Regions from separate parts of the Homo sapiens genome. Here region 2 is linked to region 1. Evidence: promoter capture Hi-C in human tissues and cell types (Jung and others, 2019). All regions are on one chromosome and are shown on one strand. The core of a region is centred on a gene start or on the middle of the fragment in contact, and the rest is flanking DNA. Distances in the headings are between cores, read along the strand shown. Region 1 holds the start of GFRA1 (GDNF family receptor alpha 1). Region 2 has its middle 44 kb from the start of PNLIPRP3.

What was found. The method cuts DNA at HindIII sites, captures the fragments that hold promoters and counts their contacts. A contact is called where the count stands out against the background at its distance.
Region 2: a fragment that was not itself captured here is called in contact with the fragment with the promoter of GFRA1 in region 1 in 2 of the 25 tissues and cell types used here (H1 embryonic stem cells and adrenal gland).

What each region holds. Positions count from the first base shown.
Region 1 is chr10:116,271,420-116,277,829 of GRCh38, forward strand. GFRA1 (GDNF family receptor alpha 1) reads right to left here and starts at 1,787. Exons shown (of 11, transcript NM_005264.8): 1 at 1,744-1,787; 2 at 571-856. The coding sequence starts at 610. It overlaps LOC107984273 (a long non-coding RNA gene), which reads left to right and starts at 2,590. Exons shown (of 2, transcript XR_001747598.2): 1 at 2,590-5,413. RefSeq lists an enhancer at 1,952-2,789 and a silencer at 1,998-2,292. The HindIII fragment of the contact is 12,805 bases long and covers 1-6,410 here.
Region 2 is chr10:116,380,267-116,386,676 of GRCh38, forward strand. No RefSeq gene overlaps it. Among named protein-coding and RNA genes, the nearest start is that of PNLIPRP3, 44 kb to the right of the region's middle. The HindIII fragment of the contact is 3,312 bases long and covers 1,944-5,255 here.

The DNA.
Region 1 (6,410 bases), core at 537-3,036:
CCTGGCCTGAGCAACGACCCGGGCTCCCGGGCCACCCCCGGCTCCAGCCACCCGCTCCGCCCGGCTGAAACTCAGGCGCTTTCCGAGGAGAAGTGCGGCGGCGGACTGGGCACCGGGCGCGCGCTGGGCGCGGGGCAGGCCAGCCATGGTCAGCGGTCCGCCGGGCGGAGAGTGCCCAGAAGCTACTCGGGAAAAACTTTTCTCTTCCAAGTTTGCTCTCCCGGCCCCAATGCTCCCCAACTCCACCTGCCCGCCGCGGCTCCGCGAGCTCCCAGAGACTCTCTGGGGGTGCAGGGCCCTGGGCTGGAGGGCTTCTTAGTCCCCCGCCAAGTTGGGTCATTAAAAACCACAGGAAATCAAAACCAAGCCCGAAAAGCTTCAGGCAGCGCCGCGCCGCCACCGCCTCCCTAACCCGGGGATTCGCGATCCCATTCCCCAAAAAGACACTTCTTCCTTCCACATCCACCACACCCGCGCCCCAATTTTGGTGCGGAGGGCGGGGTGGGCTGCTGCAAGCGACCCTAGGAAAGACTCAGAGGGTAAGAAAGCCCGCGGCGGGCCTCGACTTACCCAAGAGCGGCAGCGCGAAGTACAGGGTCGCCAGGAACATGGTGCCGGCGCGGGGCTGGTCCCCGCCCCCCCAAAAAAATCCCGAGCCGCCGCTGGGTCTTGCCGAGGGAGCTCAGCGTGCAGCGATCCCCGGACAGCTGTGCTGCTCTGGCCGCCCAAAGTTCAGCTCCATCCAGTGAAAGAGGAAACTCCGGGTCTGGCAGCAGCCACCGCCGCCGGCGACTCAGCTCCGGGATGGCGAGGGCGGGAGGCGGTTCCGCTTTTAGGGGTTCAGGTCCGACCCAACCTGGAAGGGAGGGCGCGCTTTGAGATGAGAGCGGAGAGCGCCGGAGACTCCCCCCACAGAACCCTCTCCCCTCCCCCGTTCCCGCCTTTGGGGAATTTCCAACACCGGGGTGAGGACCCACCCCCACCCAGGTCGGGGTGCATGTGCGTGTTTTCCAGGGGCCGCTGACACGGGGATGGAGGTGAGGGCTGGAGAGGTCTGAAGAGGGTTCCTAAAGTCCAAGGGGGTGTCTGTTGGGTTCAACCCGAGACGCTGAACGCAAGCAAATAAATAAATAAACGGTACTTTCCGAGCGTCGCGAGCGGAGCCTGCAGCTGCCTGGAGTCCGAGCCCTCGGTGGCGGCGGCGGCAGCTCCCTAGCCAGCCCTGGCGCCGAAAGAGCCCCTTCTCCCGGGAAGTTGGCCTCCCCCTCCTCGCGTCAGCCAGCGAGCTCGCTCAGCCGCCGGCCCTCCCCACTCCGATCGCCAATCCCTAGCCCCAGTCGCCGCCCTCCTTCTCCCCGGGACTCGTCTCCCTCCAGAGGCCGCCAAGCCAGGGGGAACCGATGTCCCGACTGGGGCTGAAACCCGGTTCCTGCGCCCCTACCCCCTACCCGCCGCGCGTCCTCGGCTCCCTCCTGGGCGTCCGCTCCTCTCACACTCTCGCCCGGTGCCCAGGACTCGGGCGCTTCCGCACCCCAGCCCAGGGCGAGCGCGCCGGCCCGCAGTCCCGGCGTGCCCCGGCAGGTGCAGCCCGGCGCCACGAGCGCCCCCCGGGCCCTAAAGTTGGGAGACGCCAGCAAAAAGAAAGGGGTGGCCGGAGGAGGGGGGAAGAAGGAGTGGGGAAGAGGGACGGGAAGCGGCAATGGGTTCCCAAACAGAACGAAAAAAACTCCAAATGCCACCAACCTGGACTCAACCGACCGCGTCCAGCTGCGGCGAGGAGCCAGTTTGTTTATTTACTTATTTATTCTTTCAGGGCAATGGTGTCCCCGCCCCCTCCTTCCCTTTCCGGGCTCACTTTATCTGCGCTAGGAAAAGAAAAAAAAGAAAAAAAAATAGATGCGGTAATCTTCGAGAGCTCGAAGGGCCGAGTTGGGCCAGGACGATTTCCGAGCAGAGCCCTCGGCTCGGATGCTCGTTAGGGATGTTAGTGGTTATTGGAAGCGGCGCGGAGAATGGCGTGTTCCGAGGCCAGATTTCTTCTGGCCAGAGGACCCTCGGCCTGCTCCTGTTCCCGCCGCTCCGCAGCTCCAGCTCCCTCCTAAGCTCGCCCGCCAGGCAGCCGCAGCTGCACACGCCCGCTTGCGGTGGGACCCGCGGCCGGACCCGTACTCGCGCACAGGACACGCAGTGTTCTGCAGCCGGCCGCGGGTGCTGCCAGACACACACACTCTCTCTCTCTCTCTCTCTCTCTGTCTCTCTCTCTCTCTCTCTCTCTCACACACACACACAGACACACACACACACATACACGGGCACAAGGGCTCTTTCTTCTTAGGGCAATCGAGCCAGACCCTTCTTCGGAACACAAAGTTTTCCCCCACGTCACTAGTGGCTGTGATTCAAGACTTGGTGCTTTCAAGACACACTCAGACCCAGGACGCTGGAGCGGCGATCCTGGGATGCGCCCATCCGTTCGTCCACGCCAGCGCGTGCACACTCACACTCACACGCACACATGCACACGCAGTCTCTACCTCTCTCCTGGAGCTCCGACAAGGAGACAAAAGCGGAGCCCCCAGCCCACTGCATTTAAACCCGGCCAGACCTGGCTTTAGAAAATTTATAAGCTGACCTCCATTTTGGCTGTTTCGAGAGTAAATTAACAACAACAAAAAAAGCCTAACATGTACACAGCCCTTCGCCCCAACCCCTGGGACCGCTGGTTCCCAGTCGTGCTGCTCACCCCCCGCCCCCCACGCCTGACACACGCTCCCCTTCCCGCACGCCGGGGGGCGCCCGGGGCACCGAAGTCTACACTGGGTCGGGAGACCGGTCTAGGAGCCAGCCGGCAGTGCTCGGGATCTTTGCTGATGTCCAAGTTCATCTCTCGGGGAGACCGAGTTTGAATCAAATCTGCGTGCGCCCAGCTGTCAAATCTGCAAACCTATCACGCCAGACAATGGGCCGCCGCGGAGGACAGACAAGAATGGCTCATTTTGATCGAGGGGGGTAAATTGAAAAGGGCACGGGCTTTGGTTGAAGTTTGAGGCCCGGGTGTCAGGGCGGGGAGAAGAAGAGGAGGAAGGAGGAGGGTTGGGCCGCTCTCCATTCAACCACACATCAGCCAGGCGCGCCCCTCGGCTGCAGCGGCTGCTTGCAGGCGGGCTGCATATTGTGTGGAGTCGCCAAAGAGGGTCTGCGCCTCGGGGCGCGCCCCAAACCCGGGGGACATCCTACGGATCCGCACTTCTCTTGTGCTGTACGCGTGTTCCTCCAGGGTAAGTATGAGGAGACGGACGCCCTCATCAGACACCCCTCCTCCAACACACACACACCCATAGCCACATCATTCAGGGATACTCTAGTTCAGTGTATCAGTTTACACTTGGTTGTTGAGTAAACAAAGCAAACATATGTCACATTTTCGCGACAGATGGTTCAAACCAAGGGCTACTTAAGTTCTCTCTCTCTAACAGTCTAAGTTACAGGCTGAACTAAGCAGAAATGTAATTAAGTCATCTGATCAGTTTCTTCGACTTAAAATGTTTTCCCATATTTTCACAAACAAGCCAGATAAATCCTGGGGATGTGGTTTCAAGGAAAGGAGGGCTGAATATGAACTAAGACTTTGTGTGAAGACTCCGTTTCTCCCCGGTCACCCCAAACAGAAAATCCTCTTTCATTGTTCCATTTCGTAAGTGGAGGAGAATGTCTTCTTTTGGAAAATCAGTAATTGGAATTTCAATTTTCAATAGAGGGACTAGTGCTTACCGGTGCTGATTACTTGGGATAGTTGGATTACAATGAGGTTTAAGACATCATCCACATCTTTTGTAAATGTTCTTTGTTTAGAAATGACTTCATGTTACCCTATATATTCCACGGAATTCTTTTGAATCAAATTTTAACAGGGTGGGGGAAGGGTGAACTAAAAGCTCTCCCAGTGTAGAATATGGGACTTCTTTTTAAAATACAGATGATCTCCAACTTATGATGCTTCTACTTATATTTTTAGACTTTACCATGGTGCAAAAGCCATATACATTCAGTAGAAACTGTATTTTGACTATGGACCATACAATCATTCTATTTTTCACTGTCAGGTTAGTATTGAATAAGTTTCATGAGATAGTCAACACTTTACTATAAAATAGCTTTGTGTTAGATAATTTTCCCCAACTGCCGGCTAATGTAAGTGTTTTGAGCATGTTTAAGGTAGGCTAGGCTAGGCTGTGATGCTTGGTAGTTTAAGTGTATTAAATGCATTTTCAACCTATGATGTTCTCAACTTTTGATGAGTTTATCAGAGCATAAGCCTCATTGGAAGTCAAGGATCATCTGTATTTTTAGCTTCAATAATGTATTTCTGAACCATTCACTCACACTTGTCCTTATTAAGTTTGTGCTGCTGATGAATACAGAGCTTTGTTTTTAAAAAGGTAACAATAAACCCCCAGAGGCTGTAACTGTGTTGTCCAATACAATAGTCACTAGCCATGTGGCTATGTCAATGAAATTAATTAAAATTAAATAAAAGAAAAATGCAGTTCCTCAGTAGCATTAACCATATTTCAAGTGCTCAATAGCTACATGTGGCTGGTGGCTACCATATTGGACAACACAGATATAGATCATTTCCATCATTGCAGCAAGCTCTACTGGACAGCACTACCCTATAATGTTGGTGTGGAATTAGTTAATGTGGTATATACACATATATAAAGTTTTTAGAATAGTAGAATAGTGCATAGAGTGCTTACTTCATAAGCAGCAGCAGTACTGGGGGTTGTAGTTGGAAGGATAATGATGATGATGATGATGATGATGATGATGATGCCTTGTTAGTCTCTTGTAGAAGTCAAAGAATCGATGAAGACACAGCCCACTTCTGGTATGTCAGGATGAGATCAGCAGGCAAAGAAGCCAGGGAGTAGGAGAATCTATATGTCAAAAGCTGATCTTCCAAGGAAAGCTGTGAACAGAAAGATGTGGCCCATACTGTAGCCTAAGACTTCCCGTAGTAGGAGCTAATAAAAATAATAATTAAAAAAATCACTGCTTTACAACTACATCCATTAACTTTTTTTTTTCTTTTTTTCTTCTTTTTTTTGAGACAGAGTCTCGAGCTGTCGCCTGGGCTGGAGTGCAGTGGCATGATCTCAGCTCACTGCAACCTCTGCCTCCTGGGTTCAAGCAATTCTCCTGTCTCAACCTCCTAAGTAGCTGGGATTACAGGCACCCACCACCACAACCAACTAATTTTTTTGTATTTTTAGTAGAGATGGGATTTCAGTATGTTGGCCAGGCTGGTCTCAAACTCCTAACCTTGTGATCCACCCACCTCAGCCTCCCAAAGTGCTGGGATTACAGGCGTGAACCACCACGCCCGGCCTACATCCACTAACTTCTAAAGGTGAGAGAAACACACTGCCCTTGGAATATCGAAGACAGAAAAGCATTGTGACTTAATGTATTAATATCATCTCTGTTTCCTTGGAGCTTATCTGTTCCTATGTGTATGGGACTGATCTCAGGATGAAAGGTGACATCAAAGTATCAAATATTATTGATAATTATAAAGGTTCATGTAATCCTCTGTGACATGTTGCTCAGCAGAAAATTGGTTTTAATGCCACAAAATTAGGTTCAATCTACCCATAAGCACGTGAAGTGAGCAATTTTCTGGCATTTCTTGATGTAAGTGTATTTTCATAAGTTAACAGATGAGTCAGGATGAGAATGACAGTTTTATTCCATGCAGCATTTTGTCTGTTTCTCTCATTGCCTTCCTTGGCCCTCCATTTTGTAAAATTCTACTGCTTAAAAAGCATTCAGATTTTTTTAACTCATTCTAGTCCATGAAAGTTCAACATTTGACATCAGACAGCTTGACAGATTTACCGCGGTAGTTACAAAAAAAAAAAACTATTCACCAGTCTCTAAGTGTGCCATGACATTTTTGACTGCTATACCTTTGCCCATTCATTTCCATCTGCCTAATGCGTGCTTCATCCTGATATTTCAAGGTTCGGCTCAGCTCAAACAGGACACTACGATAATATGGACCTCTTTGGTCAGAATTCATAGTTCCCTGTAGTATACTCCACGGCCTCACTGAAGCCTCCGCCATGTCTATTGTAACATTGCATTGTAGTTAGTTGCTATATCTGTCTCCTCATCTGGAATGTGTGCTCCTTGAAGGCAGGAAGCTGTCCTAGTCTTTTTTTTCATCCCCAGCATTTAGACTGATAACCAACACACAGTCACCCCCAATAAATGTATATTGATTGCATGAATAATGAGTGATGCTGTTCCTCATTTTCCTCTGACACAATAATTTTACTGAAAGGTTTACATAAAATCCCTTTACTGGATGAACAATGCAAAATATAAGTACCTCATACAATTAC
Region 2 (6,410 bases), core at 2,350-4,849, 110 kb after region 1:
AAGTTTTCCTACTTTTCACTGTGTTTCCATGAAGTCTGGGGCACCTGAAGCCATTTTCTGGTTAATGCCAGTGTTGGTTATAATGAAACAAATTATCCACGGGGATATGAATCCCCAGTGGATTATGAGGTACATAATCTCCTTAACAGCCATCAGGATTCATTTTCTCTGGTGACCTGAACTACTGCAACTGAAAACAGTGTAGTTAGGATCGGATCATACTTAGTATTGCTACCAAATTTCCAATATCACTTATCTTTCTGCCGTTACCATTTCTGACTAGACAGAAAGTCTATTGTCTGAAAGTGTATTGACTGATATAAGAATAGCTACTCCTGAAGTCATTATATGAAAAAGATACTTGCACATGAATGTTTATAGCAGCACAATTCGCAGTTGCAAAAATGTGGAACCAGCCCAAATGCCCATCAGTCAACGAGTGCATAAAGAAACTGTGAAATATATATACGATGGAATACTACTCAGCCTAAAAAGGAATGAATTAATGCCATTCACAGTGACCTGGATGAGATTGGAGAATAGTATCCTAAGTGAAGTAACTCAGGAATGGAAAACCAAACATTGTATGCTCTCATTCGTAAGTGGAAGCTAAGCTATGAGGATGCAAAGGCATAAGAGTGACACAATGGACTTTGGGGACTCAGGGGGAAAGGGTAGGAAGGGGGTGAGGGATAAAAGACTACGAATTGGGTGCAGTGTATACTGCTCAGGTGATGAGTGCACCAAAATCTCACAAACCACCACTAAAGAACTTACTCATGTAACCAAACACCACCTGTTCCCCAATAACCTATGGAAATTAAAAACAAATCACAAATAAAATAAAAATAAAAGTTTATTGCAACAATTCAACAAGGCCCTAGATTGGAGCAGGTTAGGAAGAAAACTTACTTGGGGATATATTTCAAAATAATGAGGGCTAATGTTAGAACCATGCTTTCTTTTGTGGTTGTAGTTGAATTCATTTATCTATTAATGTTAAGGTAGAGTACTTAGGTTTATCTAAATCTCAGAGCAGAGCCTAAGCAAGTCTTATTTCAGAGCAAGTCTTATTTAGACATAGTTTTTTTGTATATGTTAACACCCTTATTTTTCAGAAATTAGCAAAGTTGAAACACTCTCCTTCAGGATATATAGCAATTGCCATGTGTTTAAATAATTTGCAATTTTCAAAAGTAATTTCTAATTTTATTTTTTAAATATTTAAATTAGTAATCAATTATTTTTGCTTAGGAAGAAAAAAATGAATGGTGGCAGAGAATTGCAATATATTTTATATGCAAATACAGAGCGGGAAATGGTTATTGGGATTTGTCATGACCTCAGTTCTGTCTTATTTTAGTCTATTTGTCTACCCTGGAGAGTCCTGTGAATCTCTTTTGCTATATATATTTAGTATGCAGAATTTACACGTAAAGCTTCTTTCACTTACCAGTAATTTTTGCTCATTATTGGTTTTGTAGCTAAAATATTAATGTGAACTAGAGATCAGCCACCTATTTGAATTACTAACACAATGGCATATATGCAGAATAAACTGCTACCGATACAACCGTTCTTTCACATGTGTGTCATATAGAATATCTAGATTAAATATTCAGTAACAGAATCAGTATTCAAATGAATTGAATTTGAGAATAAAACTGAAGGTTCGGTACTTTTATTATTTTAAAATGCTTAAAATGCATAATTTAAGATTTAAACTCATTTTCATATAATCAAATAATTATTTTAGCACTGCATGATAGAGTAATAGAAAGCGGTATCCATGTGATACCAATCAAAATAACTGAACGATTAGAATCAATGTAATTAAAGGAACAAGTTATCTGAAACAAAGGAAATACAGCAATCAATAGAAATCACAGTGTGTGAAACTAAACTGCACATCAAGATAAAATATTAGGAGTAGATTAAGTCTGTTTTTAGGGTTTTTTTTAAGAATTAGTAAGTCATAAAACTCATAAGTAGGAAAATTAACTGAACTTATCTGGGTAAAAATATGTCTCAGACTGAATTCAGTTACTCTGGAAGTAAGACTTTGGCTATACAGAAAGGCAATTTTTAAACGAATGTCCATTCATTAAGTAAATTCATTAAATTTTCCGTATACTTAGTTATGATCAAAACGCAAACTAACCCAAAGTAACACTGATACTGCTCTGAGGTTTGTGGCTTGCCACCATAGTTCTTTAATGTAACTCAAGTTCTTTGAGAAGCAACTTTCTAACTCTCAGTACTCCACTGAGGATAATATTAAAATGTAGAGACAGTTTGCTGCGAAATTCTCTGCTGATTAATGGAGCTATTACACTGGGGGAAAAACAGCGACAAAATCATAGGATGTGGAGCATGACCACTGGCCTAGAAATTCCTTTCTTCCTTCCCTGGCCTAATTATTGAAATGGGAGGAAAAGTAAAGAAAAGCTTTAAGGTATCTACAATCAGAATGATTTCTATTCTATCATTGTTTTGTCAATAGTAGTGGTTTGTTTTTTAAAAGAAACAAACAAAAAATTGCCTGCCTGCTTTTTTTTTCTTGGAACTTGAAAAACCATGATGAGATTCTGAAAAGGCTAAGGTAAGGTAGAGGTCATTGTATTATAATGAATTGGAATCTAGAAATGCCTTAAAACAGAGTCAATTGGGATTAGTAATTTTTTGTAGGATGGAAATTATGCTGTGAAAAAATCCACTGAGTCCATTACCAGAAGGGCAAGCAGTAATTTAGCTGGGTAGCTGCAGATGGACAGACAGCATGCACTGGACAGGCCCTGTTCAAAGCTCCTGTGGAGGACAAAGTCCCTTTATATTTTATACCAATCAATCATACATAACTGTGTCACACTATAATGAATAAATCATTTATTTGCAGCCTAGGAAACAGTAGCAGTTCAGTGACATGATTAGAAATAAATATGAGACTATCTTAATGCCGGGTGTATCAGGGTAAGGTGTTCTGTGATTCAAGTATTTATAGTATAAAATTTGAAATTTAAAAGCTGCTTAATGTACTAAAAAGTATTTTAACATTTGAAGCTGATCTATTTTAGGTGAACTTTTATGTTTCTTTTTTGACCCCTCTTCTCTCCTTTTGTCATCCAGAAAAACTTTAGTAAAGAAAATGTTTGCCTCTCAGAATCTAGTTCAGAACATTTTCTGTCAAGGGAATTTTTTTCAGGATGTGAACTAAAAATAAAAAATATTTTTCGTCATTAGCCCGAAGCAGGGATTACATCTTGGGGTTTTGTGGCTCTTTTATCTTAAGACAATAGATTTTTTTAAAATGTAAGAATGGAAAGGATGAAGTTATCTTTTGAAAATATTTGAGGTCGGAATGTATAATCAGTTGCATTTGTGCTTTCTAAACATTATATTTTCAAGTTAAGTAAGTTTTTTCTTGGTTTGCTAATGGTCAAATCATCACAGCAGTAAAGAAGCTTTATTTGTTATTTTACTGACACTTGGCAAAAGACTAATATCAAGACAGCATTGACTACTACACGAGGGAAATCAAGTAATAACTTTCCCCTGCTTTAAAAGGGAGAAACAGGATTTTATCTGTTTGTTGTTAATTATACGTAAGGTCACATTTATTAAACATGAGGAAAAAATTTTGCAGGGCAATGCTTACCGTAGAACATATACTTTGACTGGAGGAAAAAAAAGCCATGACTGATGGTAAAGTGGTCTCCCAGCTGCTGCTATGAAAAGTATCAAGAGCAAAGCTGTCAGAATTGAATGCTGATTTAAACAGCTTTTGATACAGAGTGAATTTGTCTTTAAAAGGCCTCTATGAAATAAACAGCACCAGAATTCAGATGTCTGGGAAAATAAAGAATAGGTGAATATGTGAAATTAATAACAATGTCTGATATAAGTAGCTATTCCAAACAAGGCCCATTGATTGAGTGGGAGAAAATGATTTTATTTTTTTCTTACAACCAGAAGAACTACACTACTTGAATAATTCGAAGTTAATTATTTTCACACTTGTAATAAATTGTCATTCTAATTAGTTGGTAAATAAAACCTTGTTAAAATAAAATCCTCTTAATCTACATTTAATAGATGCAAATACAATTACTAATGATATTTCTGGATATGGCTTTGTGATTACTGAAAGTATTTACAAATTTAAGCCACCATTAAGTGATGTGGTTGTTGAAACAGTTTTTGTAGACTTTAGACAAAGAAGCTCCTGACTGGGAATGGGTGACCTGAGGGTAGTCATAGGGTCAGCATAATGTCAGCTCTACAATCTGGAGCCAATTAACGTTAGTAAAATATCAAGATTATATTTATAGTAGCCTTTTTATTCAATAAAATCAAAGCTCTTTATCAAGATTCTAGTTGTAGACCAATCAGATATGCCATTTTTAGAGGGGGAACTGAGGTTTTGATTGATGATCTGATTTGCATGAGGTCACACAGAGCAGAGGCCCTCTTTATTTACAGTTTAATTGCTTGGGTTTCATTTCTAACACAGCTTAAATATATATTGCTTTTGAAAACGTGCTTACAATAAAATCTTACATAACAGGTAAATATTAGAAGATAAGAGAAATTTAAGAATTATTTAAATCACCCTTTGGTACCAGAAAACATCGATTAATCAGAATCAGCAAATATGAATCTTTAATTAACTAAGAATATCTTTCTACACTCCTTGAGAAGAAAGGGGCAAATCAGAATAAAACAGACTCAAATCAAGTGTTATTGAAAATTCGCCTTCTGGCTATCTCTTGAAAGTAACACCTATTCATCCTGCTTTATTACACTTTCTACAGATGTGTGTTTTTTCTTTTTTTCCAGCACTACCCTGTGGTCATTGATATTTAAAGTGATAACCTGAGGAATGGCACCTTTTTACAATATCAAATAATAAAGGTTATATTCATTCTTCAGTACTTGCTAAGGCAGGAATGTGACTAATAGAAAACATCCAGAAAGATCAACATGTAAAAGAATCTGATTAACCTGAACTTAGCGCTCTTGCTCATTTCCTTTCTCCTTGTATTCTTCCTTCTATCCATTCTTTCATCCATCTCTCCATCCATCCTGGCTCTTGCCTACCTCTCAGAACTCATGCCATACCAGCTCTCCTCCTTGTAGACTCCTCTCCAGCCATACAGATCTTTCTGCCCCCCAAATAGGCCCAACTTGTTCTGGTGTTAGGATCATTTCATGAGCTATGTTCCCTCTGCCTGGGTTGCTCCACCCCCTGATCTCTGTATGGCTGTCAGCTTCTGTCATTCAGATGTCAAGTGAAACGTCACCTCCTCAGAGAGGCCTTCCTTTAAACAATCTATGTAAAGTAGTCACGCAGTCACACTATGACATATCCTAGTTATAAATTCTCTTCATACTTCTTATAATTTGTGACATCTTTCTTGTTTTTCTGTTCTACTTATCACCACTAAAACAGAAGTTCCATGAAAGCAGAGTATTCTTTATCTTGCACATCGCTTATCCCTTAGAGCCTGGAACAGTGTGTGGTATATAGGAAGTGTCCAATAATATGTGTTGAAATATGGTTTCAATTAACTTGTTCATTTAACCTATATTTATTGCTTAAGGATTTAAATATAAATTATTGATTCTCTAGTTAAAGAAACTGGATTCATTTATTGTTGTTTATCTTTCTTGGGTGAATTACCCTGTCTTATTTCTTACTCTTTCTGAGCCTGTTTACTTAGCTGAAAAATGGTAGTTATGTTTGCTAATTTCAGAGCCTATCTATGTTGAACAACCAATAAAAACAATGGAAATAAACCAGAAGAAAGTAATGATCCCACATCCCATCACAGAAAAGTTTGTAGGTCTCTCAATGGTCCCTTACAGCTTTCTATTATCAAACTGTTGATTGGCAGATAATGGTTATGAATGCTACCTTTCCACCACCTGCTAGAATAGGAAGTGAAAATTGTAAGTTACTTGCAAGCTATGAATGTGCATTAGAGTACCTTAAAAGCATTATCTCTCCATGGTAATAGAAAATTTTGAAATGTGTTTGCTTCTGTGATGTATTCAGTCTTTCTGGTCTGAAATACAAAGTGTAAGCAATCCTGTTTTTAATTCAGCATCATATTTAGAGAAATATATGAGTGCCATCTGCTGGATTTCTCTGGTACGACATTGAAGAGAATGACAAATCCTTATAAAAATGTGACCCTTCCTTCCTTCCCTCCTTTCTCCCTCTCTCCCTCCTTCCCTCCCTTCCTTCTTCCTTCCTCCCTCCCTCCCTTTCTTCCTTCATTTATGTAAATATAAAATTTAAATATTTGTATATAGTTTTCAATTGTTCAAATTTATGTACATATATAATTTTAAAATATGTATTTGGTGCTAATTTTCAAATTAATATCACATGCATCCTAGAGAAATAT